Regions from separate parts of the Homo sapiens genome. Here region 1 is linked to region 2. Evidence: promoter capture Hi-C in 16 types of primary human blood cells and fetal thymus (Javierre and others, 2016). All regions are on one chromosome and are shown on one strand. Each heading gives the region's core, a stretch centred on a gene start or on the middle of the fragment in contact. The rest is flanking DNA. Distances are from core to core; before and after follow the strand shown. Region 1 has its middle 5.8 kb from the start of LINC02947. Region 2 holds the start of UBE2V2 (ubiquitin conjugating enzyme E2 V2).

What was found. Contacts are between HindIII fragments. The CHiCAGO score rates a contact against its expected background, and 5 or more counts as called.
Region 1: a contact is called between a fragment that was not itself captured here and the fragment with the promoter of UBE2V2 in region 2, in 2 of 17 cell types (total CD8 T cells and non-activated CD4 T cells). The highest score is 7.0, in total CD8 T cells.

What each region holds. Positions count from the first base shown.
Region 1 is chr8:48,509,504-48,515,009 of GRCh38, forward strand. No RefSeq gene overlaps it. Among named protein-coding and RNA genes, the nearest start is that of LINC02947, 5.8 kb to the right of the region's middle. RefSeq lists silencers at 5,012-5,241, 5,312-5,421. The HindIII fragment of the contact is 2,256 bases long and covers 2,747-5,002 here.
Region 2 is chr8:48,005,454-48,011,182 of GRCh38, forward strand. UBE2V2 (ubiquitin conjugating enzyme E2 V2) reads left to right here and starts at 2,978. Exons shown (of 4, transcript NM_003350.3): 1 at 2,978-3,017. The coding sequence starts at 3,002. RefSeq lists silencers at 2,684-2,943, 3,174-3,373. The HindIII fragment of the contact is 2,629 bases long and covers 1,127-3,755 here.

The DNA of each region.
Region 1 (5,506 bases), core at 2,625-5,124, 500 kb after region 2:
CATGGCTGGAACATAAACGGAAGGGATTTTAATCACTGCCTACTCACACATAATTGTTGCGGGAAAGCCTTTGAGACTTGTTGAAGGGGAGATTCTAGAGAGGGGAGCCATAGGCTCACTCTAGGTGACAGGTCCTGTAGTGATGGAGACCTTAATGTCTGCCCGTACTTGGCGAAGGTGGAGCGCTCTATCTACACTGTAAAAATCTGTTAAAAAGTGTGCTGGTAGCAGGAGAGAATTAACCAAATAAATGTGGTATATCTGATCTTATGTATTAAAATAATATATATGGTTTTGGTTTTTTTGAGGGAGACGTGGCTTGTAAAAACAGGTTTAAACATTGAACAACTGACAATGTTTACTGACTATGAATTTCATGCAGGCTATTGTACTATGTGCAGGGGAGGGGTACAAAGGAAATGGAAGTCATGGCCCATGTACTTGAGGAATTTACAGGCTAATAGATTACATACACATGCTAGGGAATAGGCAACATGTTGGCTGACAGCCAGCTGGAGATCTGTTTGCTCGTTCACTCTATCTTCCTATATTTTCTGAGCGGTATCTCACACCAGAATAAGCAGGCCAGTTTCAAAGAGCTCTTCTTCAATTAGATGAGTATTCTTGTGTCTTTTATCATAAATACCAGACCACTTAGAGATTAGGCATGGGTTTACATGGGCAGAAAGAGATGAGTGAAATACTTTTTGAGTAAATTAAATCAGTGTGGATTATCACTCTGGGTGCTATTGATTTTTCACCACTCTCTCTTACTATTCCCAGATCTATAAAGATCCCCCATAAGTCAGGTTTCTGCCAGAAACAGGTAACTTTAATTTCACAGTTTATTTTGCTCACACAACTATTGCTCAAGTCCCTGATGGGGTTTGTGGGCCGGAGGCCACTATCCCAGGCTGCTTCATTGAGGACAGGCCTGGGCTTCTGCTCTCCTGGGGAGCACAGTCTTTTTCTTAAGGGGAGGGATCTTTCCTGGGAGGAGAGGAAAATCTCCATATATGAAGTGGAGTCTTGAAGCCCTACATAACTCAGGGTACTGCCATTCTTCACCTTTGTTAAACAGGGGGAAAACCCACCCAACTCAGCTACTGAAGAATTCCTTCAGACGTCCCCTGTCTGTTTCCTCCCCACTCTTACCCGATGCTGACCCTAGGTAATAACTGATTAGTCAGGAGAGGTATAGGAAGGGTCCTGCAGGGCAAATGCCTCTGCCTCCCATACTGCAGCACCAGAACCATGGGGCCTTCGCAGAGCAGGGTCACTGGGCAGCAAGAGCTTTTAAACATATTTGGTTATTTTTGTTTGAACTCATGTTGGAGGAAAAGACCCAAGTGAAATAACATAATACCTATTCAGGTTAACACTGGCTGAAACTCTTTTTATTTTTAGCATGCGAATTCCTTCATTTCCCAGGTTTCCTGTAATGGCTGAACTTTTAGTGTAAGCTGATCAGTTCTCAAAAAGCTAACTGAAAAATAATCTGAAATAGAGCTCCTTTTCAAATAAACTAACAAGGACTTTTGGGCAAAGGTACTTACTTCATTTCATTTTAGTTAAATAGTGTTCTGTTTTTAAATAGAGGTGGGCTTGTGAAAAAAGCTGATTTACTGATTTCCTGGCCCTCCACAAAGTACCATTACATGCATTATCTCATTAAAATCTCATAGGAAAACCCTTGGAATAAGCACTTCTTAAAAATCTCTATGTATGAAGAAATGAGATCTGAAAGACTATCTTAGTCTATTTTGTCCTGCTGTAACAGGATACTACAGGCTTGGTAATTTATAAAGAACATAACTTTATTTCCTCAGTTCTAGAGGCTGTGAAGTCCAATATCAAGGTGCCAGCCTCTGGTGAGGGCCTTCTTGCTGCATCAAGCCATGGTGGGATGGCAAAGAGAGAATGAGGGAGAGCAAGAGATTGAACTCACAACCTCAGGGTCTTTAATAAATTGGCATTAACCCATTCATGAGGGTGGATGCCTCAAGACCTAAATACCTCCTATTAGGCCTCACCTCCCAACACTGTTGCACTGGAGATTAAGTTGTCAACACATGCTTTTTGGGAGGCACATTCAAACCATAGCAAAGATCTTAGAGCAAACTGCCAAGGTTACAAAGCTGGTACATCTAGGGGCCAGAACCTGAATCTAGGGCCACATACTCTGAGGTTGGTTCTTAATGCTCACAAAGCTAATGCTTTAAGTGGGGCCAATTAATGAGGTGGTAGCATAAGGATAGCTCAGGAATTAGTTGGTCATTTAGTTCTCCCCATCCTCCTTCTCTACTCAAGTTTCAAACCAAAATATATTTGGGGTGTATCTGATGTATATTTTTGTTCCCAAAAATTTCTAGTTGTCTAGCAGATGTATATATATATATTTTTTTTCTTCTTTTTTTTCATCAGGTCATGATATGTTGTTCTTAGTACATGAAGGAATCCTGTGTGTTGTGCAGTTTCTCTTGAGATACTAGCTTTGTATTCTCATCCAGTCAGTCAGGGCCTACAGCCAGGTGATGCAGTAAAACCAAGGATGTGCATAGTGCTCATTTGGAGGTGAGCGCTATGAACTGAATGATGTCCCCTTCAGATTCCTATGCTGAAGCCCTAACTCTCACTGGGATGGTGTTTGAAGGTGAGGCCTTTAGAGAGGTAAGTAGACTTAGATAATGTCCTGAGGCTGGAGCCCTCAGGTGCTATTAGAGCCCTCAGAAGACAGACATTGGAAAGCTTGCTTCCTGTCTGTACTTGCCACCATGTGAGGATGCAACAAAAAGATGACTGCCTGCAAACTAGGAAGAGACCCTTTGCCGGACATCAAATCTGTTGCCATCTTGATCTTCCCAGCCCCCAGAACTGTGAGAAATAAGTGTTTGTTGTTTAAACCACCCAGTCCATAGCAATTTGTTATAGCAGCAGAAACTGACCAAGACAGCCCATAGATGGATTTGGTTCAGCTATTCATTAGCCATGTGACTCAAAGTATTTAATTTACCTGACCTCTGTTTCTTCACCTGTTAAGTGGGGGATAACAACACTTACTAAAAGAGTCATTATAATAAAATAATATAGGGAGGTGTGTTGGAAATGACCAATGTCACTGCAGGCAGTAGTTGTTATTGCAATGTTACTATGAATCAAATCTGACCTCATCCCCAAAGAACCATCATCATGATCTCTAGCTTTGATCTGGACAAATTTCAACCTTGAATCTTGGTAGAATCAAACCAAAGTTGGGAAAGGAACAGGGGTGCAGAAAGAAAACATTTCTACTTGCTTTACCTTCCCACTTTCATGATACAGACTGTAATTACAACTGGGAAGGTTATTAGTAAATATCATTTGGTGATACTTAGTATATTTTGTTATTGCTCCTTAGAGGCCCAACTGTAATACTCTGCAATACATTCTTGTTGGCTCATTGGGATTTCATTTTTTTCCTACTACTTGTATATGGATAAGAACCTAAATCAAAGCATAGAAAAGTCAGATGGGCTGTTTTGAAATCCATGTAGTTAGAAATTCCTTTATTCTCAAAATGAAGACTTTTCTAGATCATTGGTTAATAGAGATAGGGCCTTTGAGTATTTTGAACAGTTTGAAGAAAATCAGCTGTATAAATTTAGTTTCCCCCAACAAAACAGATTTGCTCGGTTTTCCATATAAATCCATTCCCACAAGAGCTAATTTCTTGTTTCTCCACGGTACCAGAAATTGTGCTATAGATAAAATCAAAATGAGATTTTTATCCTTTCAGTTGTTGTTCAGTATACATGTGTTCAAGGGTTTTCTAAAAATAAAGCTCCTTGAATCCATGCACATACTTTTATGTCTGGAGAGTGGAGCCAGTGTTTAGCAGTATTTGGTCTGTAGGAGAGGAGGCAGGTATCACCTTCATGTCACCTTCAAGTGGCTGTAATATGCTTGTGAAAACTCACCTGCCATCAGATGGCAAGTACAAGGCAAAACGCCAGCATCATTGTAGGCCTCTTTGGGGTTCTAAGAAACAATACAGGGTACATTTAAGACAGACGCCTAAAATACTGGTATGTTCTTCTCAGGAAGTTATAAGAATCTGTAAAGTCTCAGTACACTGATTAAAAAATAAAACAACCCACTGTTCTGCTCTATACTTGCAGGCCTCCATGTCTCAGCTCTAAGACTAGGCCTTGTGATGCCTGCCTTCACTCAGGTCGCTCAGGCTTCTGTGACCCCCAGGTCTTTCTTCTCTTGTCAGTGAAGAACCCATCATAGCCCCAGAGCCCTGTGAGGGTAGTCCTGTGTGAATCCAGTGGCCTCCAGCATCTTTGCCTCCTTTGGCCAGGATCTTGGCCATGGCTGACATTTCCAAGCCTGCCATCTCCTGCAGTATATTCAGCACATAAGATGAGCCAGATGCGCACTATACAACACTGTTGCATAACCTGGCCTTTCCTCTGCCTGTGACCCCCGTGTCCCCACCATGAGGTCCTGGAGTTGGTTCAATTAATTGTAGACAGCATACTATAAATTGTATGAGATGCTCATTGGCAGACACTGTGAAGGTTTTCTTTGGGGTTGCTATTTATTTGCGTGAACATGCTGGAGGTATAAAACTGCCTGTGTGTGCACACTGTGTGAGCGAGGCCAGGGCCGCCACTCTCTGGGGCTCCTTCTGGTTCTGGATAGGTCCTTGTTGGGACTCTCAGCAAGCTCATCTGGCCCAGCCCACACAGTTCCAGTAACATGACGAGCAGCCTCCTGGCCAAATTCCTCCTGTGCCACAAGGAACAGTTACCTCCTCTCAGTACCCCACCCCCTCTTGTAAAAGTAGGTCCAGAGGCAGTTGTGTGAGGAGTGCTATAAAGAGCCTGGGTTGTATCCTGCAGGCAGCAACATCGCGGTTCAGGAAGGTATTTTATGCGGAGGATGGCTCCCTCCAGGACCAGGAGAACTGGTGGAGGGAGAGAGACCCCCAGGCAGCTGGCCCCCTGGTGAAGCCCCAAGCTTCCCCCGCCCCCGCAGACACCCGGCGCCCTTCAGTCTCAGGCGGAGCGGACCCGGGTGTCTGACTCGGGCGGGGGCGGGGTGCTGACGTCAGCCCGCGCGCATGAGCTCTGGCCAGCGGCTGGGCGGAGCCAGGTGGGCGGGGCGGCTCCTGCTCCGGGGTGCTAGCCGCTAGGCGGCTAGTGATGGATAGCTGGGCTTGAGCCCCGCCAGGCCGCCGAGTCCACCCTGGCGTCCGGGGGCTGGCAGGCCGGCCCTCCACAAACAGCGGCCTCCCGCCCAGGCCGGCCACCCGCCACCGGCCTGGTCTGCTCACGTCCCCTGGACCCGCGGGCCAGCCAAGGAGCCGCTGCCCTTGGCACCTGTTCTCCGTGCCTGCAAACAGACAAGGCCCTGCACTTTTCTCCTCACGTGTTTCAGGGACTGGTCTGTCTCCTAATTCTCCCAGCTCTGGTTCTCCCAATTAATTGCAAACAGTGTATTGAAAAAGGCATGCTGGGAC
Region 2 (5,729 bases), core at 1,728-4,227:
TTGTGAACAGTGCCACAATAAATATACATGTGCATGTGTCTTTATAGTAGAATGATTTATAATGCTTTGGGTATATACCCAGTAATGGGATTGCTGGGTCAAATGGTATTTCTAGTTCTAGATCCTTGAGGAATCGCCACACTGTCTTCCACAATGGTTGAACTAATTTATACTCCCACCAACAGTGTAAAAGCATTCCTATTTCTCCACATCCTCTCCAGCATCTGTTGTTTCCTGACTTTTTAATGATCACCATTCTACCTGGTGTGAGATGGTAGCTCATTGTGGTTTTGATTTGCATTTCCCTAATGACCAGTGATGATGAGCTTTTTTTCATGTTTGTTGGCTGCATAAATGTCTTCATTTGAGAAGTGTCTGTTCATATCCTTTGCCCACTTTTTGATGGACTTATTTTTTTCTTGTAAATCTGTTTAAGTTCTTTGTAGATTCTATATATTGGCCCTTTGTCAGATGGATAGATTGCAAAAATTTTCTCCCATTCTATAGGTTGCCTGTTCACTCTCATGGTAGTTTCTTTTGCTGTGCAGAAGCTCTTTAGTTTAATCAGATTCCATTTGTCAATTTTGGCTTTTGTTGCCATTGCTTTTGGTGTTTTAGTCATGAAGTCTTTGCCCATGCCTACATCCTGAATGGTATTGCCTAGGTTTTCTTCTAGGGTTTTTATGGTTTTAGGTCTTACGTTTAAGTCTTTAATCCATCTTGAGTTAATTTTTGTATAAGGTGTAAGGAAGGGATCCAGTTCCAGCTTTCTGCATATGGCTACCCAGTTTTCCCAACACCATTTATTAAATAAGGAATCCTTTCCCCATTGCTTGTTTTTGTCAGGTTTGTCAAAGATCAGATGGTTGTAGATATGTGGAGTTATTTCTGAGGCCTCTGTTCTGTTCCATTGATCTATATATCTGTTTTGGTACCAGTACTAGGCAATTTTTTTTACTGTAGCCTCGCAGTATAGTTTGAAGTCAGGTAGGTAGTGTGATGCCTCCAGCTTTGTTCCTTTTGCTTACGATTGCCTTGGCTACGTGGGCTCAATACCCCTGATGAACATTGATGCGAAAATACTCAATAAAATACTGGCAAACCGAATCCAGCAGCACATCAAAAAAGCTTATCCACCAAGATCAAGTCGGCTTCATCCCTGGGATGCAAGGCTGCTTCAACATATGCAAATCAATAAATGTAATCCATCACATAAACAGAACCAATGACAAAAACCACATGATTATCTCAATAGATGCAGAAAAGGCTTCGACAAAATTCAACAGCCCTTCATGCTAAAAACTCTCAATAAACTAGGCATTGATGGAATGTATCTCAAAATAATAAGAGCTATTTACGACAAACCCACAGCCAATATCATACTGAATGGGCGAAAACTGGAATGAAGGATTCTTTTTATTTTTTATTTTTTTTTATTTTGAGATGGAGTCTCGCTCTGTCCCCTAGGCTGGGGTGGAGTGCAGTGTCGCCATCTCGGTTCACTGCAAGCTCCAACTCCCGGGTTCACGCCATTCTCCTGCCTCAGCCTCCCGAGTAGCTGGGACTACAGGGGCCTGCCACCATGCCTGGCTAATTTTTTGTATTTTTTTTTTTTTAGTAGAGACAGGGTTTCACTGTGTTAGCCAAGATGGTCTTGATCTTCTGACCTCGTGATCCGCCCGCCTCCGCCTCCCAAAGTGCTGGGATCCATGCCCGGCCAAAAGCATTCCCTTTGAAAGCCGGCACAAGACAAAGATGCCCTCTCTCACCACTCCTATTCAACATAGTATTGGAAGTTCTGGCCAGGGCAATCAGGCAAGAGAAAGAAATAAAGGGTATTCAATTAGGAAAAGAGGAAGTCAAATTGTCTCTGTTTGCAGATGACATGATTGTATATTTAGAAAACCCCATAGTCTCAGCCCCAAATCTTCTTAAGCTGACAAGCAACTTCAGCAAAGTCTCAGGATACAAAATCAATGTGCAAAAATCACAAGCATTCCTATACACTAATAACAGACAAACAGAGAGCCAAATCATGAGTGAACTCCCATTCACAATTGCTACAAAGAGAATAAAAATACCTAGGAATACAACCTACAAGGGATGTGAAAAATCTTTTTTTTTTTTTTTTTTCAGTTTTATGTAGAGACTAGGTATCACTATGTTGTCCAAGCTGGTCTCAAAGTCTTGGGTTCAAGCCATCCTCCTGCCTCAGCCTCCCAAAGTGTTAGGATTACAGAAGTGAGCTTCGGCGCCCAGCCTGTATTACTTTCCTTTTTCTTTCTTTCTTTTTTTTTTTTGAAATGGAGTCTCCCTCTGTTGCCCAGGCTGGAGTGCAGCGATTTCTGCTCACTGCAGCCTCACCTCTTGGGCTCACGTGACCCTCCCACCTCAGCATCCCTAGCTGTTCAAATTTATTGTCCAACTCTTTTGAATCGTTTATCAACGCAAATCTGTCAATGCCCACTTATTTTTATTTATTTTTTTGAGGCGGAGTCTCGCTCTGTTGTCCAGGCTGGAGTGCAGTGGCGCAATCGCGGCTCATTGCCCCTCCGCCTCCCCGGTTCAAACGATTCTCGTGCCTCAGCCTCCCAAATAGCTGGGATTACAGGCGCGCGCCACCACGTCCGGCTAATTTTTGTATTTTTAGTAGAGACGGGGTTTCGCCATGTTGGCCAGGCTGGTTTCGAACTCCTGACCTCGGGTGATCCGATCGCCTCGGCCTCCCAAAGTGCTGGGATTACAGACGTGAGCCACCGCGCCCGGCCCTCATGAACTTATTCTTTAGCGTTTCATTTTGAGAGCGGGATTCACAAGGGAATTGCGGAAACAGCAGCGAGGCCCCGCGACCCCTCGGCCCACGTGCGCGCTGTCCCTCGGGTCGCCCCGCGCCCGCCGGGGGCGGAGTCCGCTGTGACGCGTGCAGGGCGGCGCGCTCCCGGAAGTGACGCGCGACGGTTCGTGCGTGCGTGCGGGCGGCTGCGTCGGGCTGCAGGAGAAGATGGCGGTCTCCACAGGTCGGTTCCCGGGCCGGGCTGCGTGATTTTCCGCTCCGACCCGGCTCTGCCCCTCCGTCTGCTGCTGGCGCCCGAGCGCTGACCGTGCGGGAGAAGCCCGAGTGCGCTGTCTCGAATGCCGCGCTCTCCGCAGAGCGTAGCCTGGGACCGGGTGGGACCGGCGCCGAGGCCCCGGCGGCCGTCGGGTTGGCGGGTCGTGCTCGCGCGTCGGCCGCGCGCCGGCGGGCTGGGGGCGGGGTGGCTCCCGCGCGGGCGCCCCCGTAGGTTCCGGCGGGCGCGGGTCCGAGTTGTAGGCTGAAGGCTCTACGGGAGGGAGGCGAGGAGGCCCAAGGTGGGCGGGTGTCAACCTCCGGCACCGAAGATGGGTCAGGCCAACCGGCACCGAAGATGGGTCAGGCCAAGAGGTGTCCTGGATCAGAGTAGGGGTCCCATTCCTTTGGACTCTCCTTGACATGGGTTGGGGAGTAGAGGACGATTGCTCCTTAAAATAAGAGCGAGAGGATCTTTCTTACCTGACTGAATACGTGTGATCTTTTTATTATTTATGAGGAAAACTGCAGTGCAAACAAAATAAAAGACCAGAGCAAGATGAAAGCTAATTGAAGAACAAGTGGTTTCTTAGATAAGCTGTTCAACTCCTCTTTCCTACTGAATACAATGTTTGGTTTCCTGTGAGCACACAAGTATTAACGTTGAGGTTTTAGACATTAGACCATTTCAGAAATGTTAAAAACGTTAAGCTTTAGTTTACATTTAAAAATGTTAACCCGTGTGATCTGCCTTTTTCTTTTCTTTTCTTTTTTTTTTTTTTTTTGAGTCAGAGGCTCACCCTGTTGCCCAGTTGGAATGCAGTGGTGTGATCTCGGCTCACTGCAACCTCCACCTCCCAGGTTCAAGTGATTCTCCTGCCTCAGCCTCCCAAGTAGCTGGGATTACAGGCGCGTGCCACCAGGCCCGGCTAATTTTTGTATTTTTAGTAGAGACGGGGTTTTGTCATGTTGGCCAGACTGGTCTCGAACTCCTGACCTCAGGTGATCCGCCCACTTCGGCCTCCCAGAGTGCTGGAATTACAGGTGTGAGCCACCGCGCTCGGCCTGATCTGCCTTTTCCTAGTCTTCGTTGAAACAAGAGTATAGAGCAGTGTGATTTAATAGTTTATGCCATCATTGCATAATAAAATGAATTTTCAAATCTATATGTACTGAAATGGAAGGCTTTGAATATATGTTGTAATTGTTGCTTTAGAGTAATACCTCAGGATACATTCTGCATACATTTTAATTAAGTGGTGTCTTTTACATCTTTATTACATATAGGTGTCATAGGTTTTAAGATCTTTAGCAGTTCTAGTGTTGGGGTAGTATACATACTTGGGTCAGCTAGCTAGTAAGGCAAGGATTGTTTTAAAAGTGGAATTTTAGTGTTATGACTTTACTGTGCTTGCTGAAATCTAATCTGTGCTCGTTAACGGGGCCATATCTTTATAACAGTTGTGCTTAGGACCTCTTATAGATTTTTGAAAATTTAGTAATAAAATAATGCATTTTAATTTAATACTTTTCATTTTCCTTTTGTGGGTTGCATTATTAAACACAATTTTTTCATAACACTATACATGAGTGTATGTTAATATTTTGAAAAGACCAAAGGTTAGATGATATTAATGGCAAATACTTTTTGTTAATCACTTTTAGTTGTTTTGGAAGTTGAATATAAATTATAAAGATTACTGATAAATTATTAGCATATTGTACATAGGGAGTCTGTATTTTTTTTTTTTTTTTGAGATGGAGTCTCGCTGCATTGCCCAGGCTGGAGTGCAGTGGCATGATCTTGGCTCACTGCACCCTCCTCACCTCAGGTGATCCACCCGCCTCAGCCTCCCAAAGTGCTGGATTACAGGGGTGAGCCACCGTTCCCATCTACTAGTTTTTTTTTTTTTTTTTTTTGAGACGCAGTCTTGCTCTGTCACCCAGGCTGGAGTGCAGTGGCGCGATCTCGGCTCACTGCAACCTCCGCCTCCCGGGCTCAAGCGATTCTCCTGCCTCAGTCTCCTGAGTAGCTGGGACAACAGGCGCGTGCCACCATGCCCAGCTAATTTTTTGTATATTTAGTAGAGACGGGGTTTCACCATATTGGCCAGGATGGTCTTGATCTCTTGACCTCGTGATCCGGCCTCCCAAATTGCTGGGATTACAGGTGTGAGCCACTGCGCCTGGGTTTGTTTGTTTTTTTTTTTTTTTGAGACTGAGTCTCTCGCTTCTTTGCCCAGGCTGGAGTGCAAGGGCATGATCTCGGCTCACTGCAACTTCCACCTCCCTGGTTCAAGCAATTCCTCTGCCTCAGCCTCTTGAGTAGCTGGGATTACAGGTGCATGCCACCACGCCCAGCAAATTTTTTTGTATATATATATTTTTTTTGTATTTTTTTTTTTTTTTTTAGTAGGGACAGGTTTTCATCATGTTGTCCAGACTGGTCTCAAACTCCTGACCCCAGGCAATCCGCCCACCTTGGCCTCCCAAAGTGCTGGGATTACAGGTGTGAGCCACAGTGCCCAGCCTATTAATTAGTTTTAATTTTACTATTAGCTATACTTTTGTTTGCTTTTTGGTAACATGGGAAGTAAATAGTACCTGTGTATTTGTGAAAGCAGCATGATACAGCTTAAAATTTAAAATTAGATGAGCTACATCGATGTAATGCACGTGTTTG